2 separate regions of the Homo sapiens genome follow, and region 1 is linked to region 2. The links are contacts of gene promoters, found by promoter capture Hi-C in blood cells and fetal thymus (Javierre and others, 2016). All regions are on one chromosome and are shown on one strand. The core of a region is centred on a gene start or on the middle of the fragment in contact, and the rest is flanking DNA. Distances in the headings are between cores, read along the strand shown.

Region 1 (4,082 bases), core at 877-3,376, 350 kb after region 2:
CAAACTTATTCAGTTCTCTTTTTGCAAACTTAGATGTACATAAGATTCACCTGGAGGGACTTTTGGTGCTCCTTAGATTGCTGGGCCCCATTCCAGAAAGTCTACACTTGTAACAAGTTCCTAGGTGATATGGTTTGGCTGTGTTGCCACCCAAATCGCATCTTGAATTCCCACGTGTTGTGGGAGAGACCCTTTGGGAGGTAATTGGATCACGGGGGCAGGTCTTTCCCGTGCTGTTCTTGTGACAGTGAATAAGTCTCACAAGATCTGATGGTTCTATAAGAAGGAGTTTCCCTATACAAGTTCTCTCTTTCTGCCTGCTGCCATCCATGTAAGGTAAGACTTGCTCCTCCTTGCCTTCTGCCACGATTGTGAGGCTTCCCCAGTCACAGGGAACTAACTAACTGTACGTCCATTAAACCCTTTTTCCTGTATAAATTACCCAGTGTCAGGTATGTCTTTATCAGCAGTGTGAAAATGGACTAATACACCAGGTGATGCTGACTGCTGCTCCTAGGCCTACACCTTGATTGCACCAATCGTCTAAAGGTCTCTTGGCCTGCAATCTCCCCACTCCCATCATAGCTGCTCCACAGTGCTGTCAAAGCCATCTTTCTAAAGCATGATCCAATCTTTACATAAAATTGCTTGAATTTCCTAGTAGCTGCTAAGCATTTACAATGTGGTTAGATATACCTCTGAGTGATTAACATCAGTTAGCTTATTTAAAGCTGAGAACAGCTCTGTGAGGTAGACAATATTATCTCCATTTTACAGATGAGAAAACCAATGCATAGAGACCTTGCGTAACTTGTCCAAGATCCAAGGTAGTAAGTTTCAGAGCCAGAATTTGACACCAGATTCCAGCCCTCATCTCTGGAGCCAGTGTACTCACTGCCCTTCTTCCCCTGCTATTTCTCCACCTTAAAATCTTCCAAAGAGCAATAGCCTCCAGGATTTAAACTCAACAATTGGCATGGCCTATGTGAATTGTTCTTGTTCACCACCCATTACCTTGTTCCTTGAGTCTGGCCATTAAAAACCAGTTTGGCAAGTACATTTTCCCCTGCACAAGACACCAAGACACTTCTATCTCCTTGTCAATTTTCTTTTTTTTTTTTTTTGAGACAGAGTCTCACTCTGTTTCCCCAGCAGGAGTGCAGTGGCGTGGTCTCGGCTCACTGTAACCTCTGCCTCCTGGGTTCAAGTGAGGGATTCCTGCCTCAGCCTCCTGAGCAGCTGGGATTACAGGCGCCCACCACCGTGCCCAGCTAATTTTTGTATTTTTAGTAAAGAAAGGGTTTTGCCATGTTGGCCAGGCTGGTCTTGAGCTCTTGACCTCAGGTGATCCTCCTGCCTCGGCCTCCCAAAGGGCTGGGATTACAGGCGTGAGCCACCACGCCCGGCCGTCAACTTTTATTCATCCTTTATAAAGCTTGACTAAGATGTTACCTCTTCTGAGAGGTCTTCCCAGCTCTTCCTCAGCAGCTGTGGATTAAAGGCCCTCCTTTTGTGGAAATTCCCCTAGCACCTAGCACTTAGCTATCTTTTGAAACTATACCATGCACACCTGCTTGCTTGTCTAACCCTTCACCAGTGAGTACCCCCTTAAGGGCAGTACAAACTCTTACCATTGCATCTGGGAAGCAGTTAATAACTATCTGTTAATGTTTGAATGTAAACTACAGCCAATGGCACTTTTAGGCCCTCACCTCTTACCTCCTTTCTGGGTTCCTTCTTTGGACTTCCCCTTAGGACTACATTGCAAAACTAGTCTTAATTATATTTCTTTTAAAAAGATTTTTTTATGTTTGTTATTATTTCCCTAACTAGAAAATGTAAAATATAACAAATATTCACGTACCTACCACTCAACTTTAATAACTTTTAAGATTTTACTTTATTTGCTTTAGATCTTTAAAATATTATTATAAGAAAATACATGGAACTATTAATTTCCTAGTGAATCAAAATAAACTCAATCTCAAAGAGTTTTTGTTTATATTTAATTTCCATTTTGCTTAACCTATCGTCTTAGTTTATTTGTGCTGCTATAACAAAATACCAGTGACTGGGTAATTTATAAAGAACAGAAATTAATTTTCTCACAGTTCTGGAGGCTGGGAAATCCAAGATCAAGGCACCAGCCTCTAGTGAGGGCCTTCTTGCTGAGTCCTCACATGGTAGAAGATAGAAGGGCAAGCTAACCAAATGCTGCATGAGACTCTTTTTTTTTTTTTTTTTCATTTACAAATGAGGTCTTGCTGTGTCATCCAGGCTAAGGTGCAGTGATGTGATCATAGCTCAATGAAGCCACGAACTCCTTAACTCAAAGGATCATCCTGCCTCAGCCTCCTGAGTAGCTGGGACTACAGGCACATGCCACCATGCCGGGCTAATTTATTTATTTTTTTTAAGTTTTTAGAAGTGGATTCTTACTATGTTTTCCAGGCTGGTCTCAAACTCCTGGCCTCAAGTGATTCTTCTGCCTCAGCCCTCTGAGTAGCTGGGATTATAAGCGCAAGCCACTGTACCTGGCATGAAGGATCTTTTATAAGGGCCTTATACCTATTCATGAAGGAGAAGCTCTCATGGCCTAATCACCTCTTAAAGGCCCCACCTCTTGATACTGTCACACAGGCAACACCTCAGTTTTGGTGAGAAAACATTCAAACCATAGCACCTATACATAAGAGACTTCTGGAATGGCAGGGTAAGCACTTCCAAAAGTCTGCTCTTCCACGAAACTATGAGAACACTGGAAAAAATTGTTAAAAACAACTTTTTCAGAATTCTAGAAATTAGCCTGAAGCTTTCAACAAACTAAGGCATGCTTATTTAAGAAGAAAATGGCTGAATATTGGTAAGAAGAGTGAGCTTTGTGTTGTTTTAACTCACCCTATTCTCATTCCTCTCTAGCCAACTCTGTGGCAACCTTGAAAACTAGCAGCCTTGTATTCACAGTGGTTGTGAAAATTAGCAGCCTAACCATCATGAAAAGGGGATGAGGAGGTTTGGAACTCTGAAGAAGAGCTCCATCCCCAGAAAACTGTCACCATCTGACCTGTCTGGGAGCTCACTGGAAAAACCTCATTTGCAGAGCTTCCTTTTTTTTTTTTTTTTGAGATGGAGTTTCACTCTTGTTGCCCAGGCTGGAGTGTAATGGCGTGATCTCAGCTGACCACAACCTTTGCCTCCTGGGTTCAAGTGATTCTCCTGCCTCAGCCTCCCGAGTAGCTGGGATTACAGGCATGTGCCACCACGCTCAGCTAATTTTGTATTTTTAGTAGAGATGGGGTTTCTCCATGTTGGTCAGGCTGGTCTCGAACTCCCGACCTCAGGTGATCTGCCCGCCTCCGCCTCCCAAAGTGCTGGGATTACAGGCATGAGCCACTGCACCCGGCCAGAGCTTATTTGATCTGATTCAGAGCTTCCGAGGTAGGAAAGCCCTATCCCCAGGGTATTGGTTAAAAGCAATCAGTGGCAATTATTTAACACTGCAGTCATGTGAAAGCCAAACAAAAGACTATCCAAAAATCTTTTTTTTTTTTTTTTTTGAGACGGAGTCTTGCCCTGTCACCCAGGCAGGAGTGCAGTGGCACAATCTTGGCTCACTGCAACCTCTGCCTCCCAGGTTCAAGAGATTCTCCTGCCTTAGCCTCCTGAGTAGCTGGGACTACAGGTGTGTGCCACCATGTCCGGCTAATTTTGCCCAGCTAATTTCACCATGTTGGCCACGCTAGCCTCGAACTCCTGACCTCAAGTGATCTGCCCGTCTGGGCCTCCCAAGGTGTTGGGATTACAGGCATGAGCCACCATGCCCAGCCCCAAAAATCTTAAGGGGAAGATTTGGGAAATGGATGTCCACAGTGGAATTTGAAAAGCTCCAACATATTCCTGGGATACATGTGTAAGACTGTGTGCATGTGCAGAAAAGACCTTAAAAGGCCCTAATTTATTACCTCTAGATGACTTTATGGCCCTACACAAGCAAGAAGTGAAAAAAAATAAGAAATGCAAAGAAACAGGAAAGTACGGCCCATACACAGGGATAAAAAACTAATAGTAGAAACTACCCCCAA
Region 2 (4,471 bases), core at 256-2,755:
GCTGAAAGCGCGTTGTGAGGATGAGCAGAGACCTGCCAGCAGCTAAAATTCGCGCTTTAACACAATCAGCCCTGGCCGAGCATGTGCAGTGTCTCCTCCTTCGGCAGTGGGGGCTGATGGGCAGATACTGCCCAAATGCTCATTCATCAAAAGAGGCTTTCGCTCCCGGACTCCCCTGGGCCTCGAGCAGAAAGCGTCTCGGCCACGGAGATACAGAACCGGGAGCCTTCAAGGTCCTCCGCCACTCTCAGCAAGCCCTGCTCTCGATGGAGAGGAGATCGCTGGGTGATGGATGTGGGCTTCCAGGGAAGGTGCTCGCGCTGGTCCCGAGCCCTCCGGGGAAGATATTCGAGCGCGGAGCGTAAGCGCAGGGCACGCCAGCCCCGGGAGCCGCGGGAGCAGGCGCCGCGCGTCTCTGCACCACCGGGCCGCCTCCCAGCCTTCTTTCCCCAGTTTGCCCTCCTGCCGCAGTCCGGGCCGAGATTAATTCTCTGCACTTGTGAGTGGGCACACACAAGTTCTCCGGGCACGATCCTTTCATCTATTTCCCTGGGGGAGTCCACCTTTTTAACGATTAACCTCCTAGCTACCGCGGGCAAGGTGGCAGGATGCGAGTGGGGCGGGGAGGGGCGTTTCACACGTTCAGAGGCACCAAAATTAGCTGCCAGTGCTAAAAGGCTTTGCTTTCTTCGGTTTTTGACAAATAAATGGGGTGGGATGCTTGCTTGGCCGCCCGCTGCCCCAGCCCGAGCCCTGGGCTCACTTAGCAGCCTGATGCCGAGTTTCAGACGCAGTCCTGCTGCGCTTACACCCGGGCTTCTTCGCCCCCTTGCCAAAGTCTGCAGCCCGATGGATGCTGGGCGCGGGCTTTCCCTGAGCGCTTTAACGCAGCTTAGGCTAAAGCCCCAGAGCTCCCACCTTCTACCTCCTGTTTATCCGCCCGCCCCTCTACCACCGCCAAAGGACGTGCCCCTTCAGTAGAGTCGGGGATCCCAGCCCCAGAGCGGGGGAGGGCGCCTCCCTATCCCCTCCTCCCCGTCCCCGCCTCGGCTCGGGGTTTTACTGCAGCAGCCGGAGGTGACAGCGACGCCTCAGCCGCCTCTGTTGCTCTCGGAGCCCCGGCTTCCCCTGCACCGGGAAAGCGCCCCCTCTCGAGAGGCTGGTCCCTGGAGAACTGCGAACGAGCTGCAGAAAACCAGATTTTAAAATGTAGAAGTCGTTGGGCTGCATTCCTCCGAGGACCAGTCTGATCGCCCAGGACTAAGAGTGGCAGCGTATGAGAAGTTGGGACCATAGAGCAAGGGGGGGAGGGGAGTGTTGCAGCAGGCATTCTCTTCTGGAAGGAGTCGCTGGGAGCAGTGCGGTTGGACACAAGTTTGCGTAGGAGTGTTTTCCTTTTGTCAATAATTAATCACCGGAATTAGCCAGGTAGAATTTGAGTTTTAGCAAGAGTCCTGAGGGCGGGGCCGAACACCTAACTCCGGGAGGCTCCCAGGCGCCCGGCGCAGTGGGAAGCTCGCAGCAGCTGGGGAGGAGCCAAAGCCTCGGCGCTCACCTAAGCCGCAGGGAGATACACCCAACTGGGAGGTAAGCATCTTCCAAAATACCTACTTGAACTGTTAAGTAGCTTTAGTAGGATAGAATTCCTGTCTCTATAGGAGGAAAAAATTAATACTGAGCTTTAATGCAATTTATCAGTTTATTATTTAACTGCATTACAATTTTCAGAATTGATGGATTTTTCCATTTACCTTTCACTATGTGGGAAACTAAGATGTTTCACTCAGTAGAAGCCAAACTTTAACACTGAAACTTTCCAAACTAAAAGAAGAGAAAATTTCTTTACTATTTTCACTATTTACCTTCGTGTAGTCCATTAACGACTCAGGAAAATATCATTGGGTTGTGCTTGGTTTCCTTCTTAAATATTCATCTTTACCTAGTTCCGTGCTCCTATACAATCCCTCTCTGCCCATAAGCTACTTAAACTACTGTACTTTAGGCAATAGTACACACAAGTCACCTGCCAAAAAGTGAAGAATTTCCAACAAGGAATACATTTTAACATTCTCTTGTAAGTATTAAGCAGTATGTATTTTCTCAAAGATACTTAAGTCATCCTTTATAAGTAACCAAACTTCTTCACCAAAAGACAGCCAGCTAGAGTTAGCTAAATAGTTAACTTTGCCATGGGGATGAAGAAGGTGGGGAAATGTTTAGAGTAGCATTTTAAATATGAGTTGGACTCCAGATTTGTTTCAACTAAAGTGACATTCAACTGGTTGGCAATTCACATATGAGCCCAGTCCACAATCACATAAGGAGTTTGAAGAATTGTTAAATGTAAGAACTAGCCCCAAAGTCCAAATAACTGCATCAGGGGAGTTGGGAAAATTGTTTTTCAAAAAGATTTTGTGGTGCAGTACTTATTTTGAATTAGACAAAAATTAAGAAAGACATGGTAATTTTTGCTAGTGAAATTCTAAAATGTATACATAAAAGTGTTGAATTTTTAATAACTTGATTTCCACATCTGAATTATTCCTATGCTGTTTAAAACAGGTCATTTCGGTGACTTTCTCAAGGGCTGTGAAGGCTTTGTACATAGATAACTAGACCAAAACCAACAAGCTGTAGTATGAAATGTACTGTCACTCTCATTATCCAGATATTTATTTACAACTATTTAATGATAATAAATTAAAAATTATTTGTCAAAACAAAGCATGGTCATTCTAGAATTCGACTAGATTTGAAGTTGAAAGTCGATTTGAAGTTGAAAATCAACCAGTCCTCAACTCTCATTGGTTTTCTTAATTCACTGTAAATTTGCAAATACTTTTATAAAAACTGCCCTTTATAATTGTACAGCAATTCTATCTCTACTATGCTAATTATAAAGAGAGTTTTGCCACTATCTTACCACCAAGTATAAAAGAAACAAAATATTCATAAAAAATGATCCAAATGGGACTCACTTCCAGAATGGTGATGTGAAGAGCTTTTCAAATCCACTCCCTAAAAACAACAATAACTGGTGAAAATTATAGATAAATAACCATTTAAAGTTCCTGGTAATTGTCCTAAGGACATACAGCACGAAGAAAATATTTATTCAAGACAATCTCTTATATTTCAGTAAGAACTGCAAACAATTGTGATGCTTGAACCACAATATATTTCCCCACCCTCTCCAGTTGAGTGTGATGATGTTCCAGTAAGGATGGGTGCAGCCACTAACGCAGGGCCCCCTCTCAACCTAGATCCTCGTCTACAGTATACCCTGAGAGAAGCAGGCCACCAGCATTACTCATCATCCCCAGCTTTGTGTTTCAGAGCTCTATTCTAGATAAGAGCAACTGAGAGTTCTGAGGCTCTCTTCCTCCAACCATCCTCCACTCTTAAGACAGAAAATGAAGAACTCAACAACAAGAACACAACTCATTTAAAAGTGGACAAAAAAATTTGAATAGACATTTCTCCAAAGAGCAGGTAGAAACAGCCAATTTACACATGAGAAGGTGTTTACTAGCCATTAGTGGTTGGGGAAATGAAAATCAAATCAAAACCACAGTACAATCCCACTTCACACCAACCGGAATGGCTATCACAAAAAAAAAAAAAAAAAAAAAAAAAGGAAAGAAAGAGAGACAGAGAGAGAAAGAAAGAGAAAGAAAGAAAGAAAGAAAGAAAGAAAGAAAGAAAGAGAAAGAAAGAAAGAAAGAAAGAAAGAAAAGAAAGAAAGAAGAAAAAGAAAGAGAAAGAAAGAAAGAAAGAGATAATAGCAAGTGTTAGAGAAGATGTAGAGAAAATTGAACTGTCATATATTGCTGGTATTGCTGGTGGGGATGGAAAATGGTGCAATCGCTATAGAAGAGAGTTTGATCGTTCCTCAAAAAGTTGAGAATAGAGTTACCACATAATCAAGCAATTCCACTCCTAGGCATATATTCAAGAGAATTGAAAACTTATGTCCGTTCAAGAACTGTACACAAATGTTCATAGTGGCATTACTCATAACACCCAAAGAAGCTGATTGAAACAACCCAAGTTGTTTATTGAATGATGAATGGATAAATAAAATGTAGTATGGAATGAAATGATAAAATATTATTCAGCAATGAAAATCATGTGGCTGATACATACTACAACATGGATGAACATTGAAGAGATTACGTTAAGTGAAAGAAGACCACATACTATATGATTTATTTACATAACATATCCACAATAGGCAAATCTATAGAGAAAGTAGATTAGTTGTTTCCTGAGGCTGCAGTAGAAGGTAAGATTAGGGGCCGGGCGCGGTGGCTCACGCCTGTAATCCCAGCACTTTGGGAGGCCGAGGCGGGCGGATCACGAGGTCAGGAGATCGAGACCATCCCGGCTAAAACGGTGAAACCCCGTCTCTACTAAAAATACAAAAAATTAGCCGGGCGTAGTGGCGGGCGCCTGTAGTCCCAGCTACTTG

Evidence for each region. The method cuts DNA at HindIII sites, captures the fragments that hold promoters and counts their contacts. A CHiCAGO score of 5 or more calls a contact.
Region 1: a fragment that was not itself captured here is called in contact with the fragment with the promoter of SPTSSB in region 2 in 1 of 17 cell types (M2 macrophages); the score reaches 5.4 in M2 macrophages.

Annotation. Positions count from the first base shown.
Region 1 is chr3:161,023,740-161,027,821 of GRCh38, reverse strand. All of the region lies in intron 2 of PPM1L (protein phosphatase, Mg2+/Mn2+ dependent 1L), which reads right to left. Among named protein-coding and RNA genes, the nearest start is that of B3GALNT1, 80 kb to the left of the region's middle. The HindIII fragment of the contact is 1,377 bases long and covers 1,438-2,814 here.
Region 2 is chr3:161,368,551-161,373,021 of GRCh38, reverse strand. SPTSSB (serine palmitoyltransferase small subunit B) reads left to right here and starts at 1,505. Exons shown (of 3, transcript NM_001040100.2): 1 at 1,505-1,587. RefSeq lists enhancers at 923-1,477, 1,478-2,032. The HindIII fragment of the contact is 7,803 bases long and covers 1-4,471 here.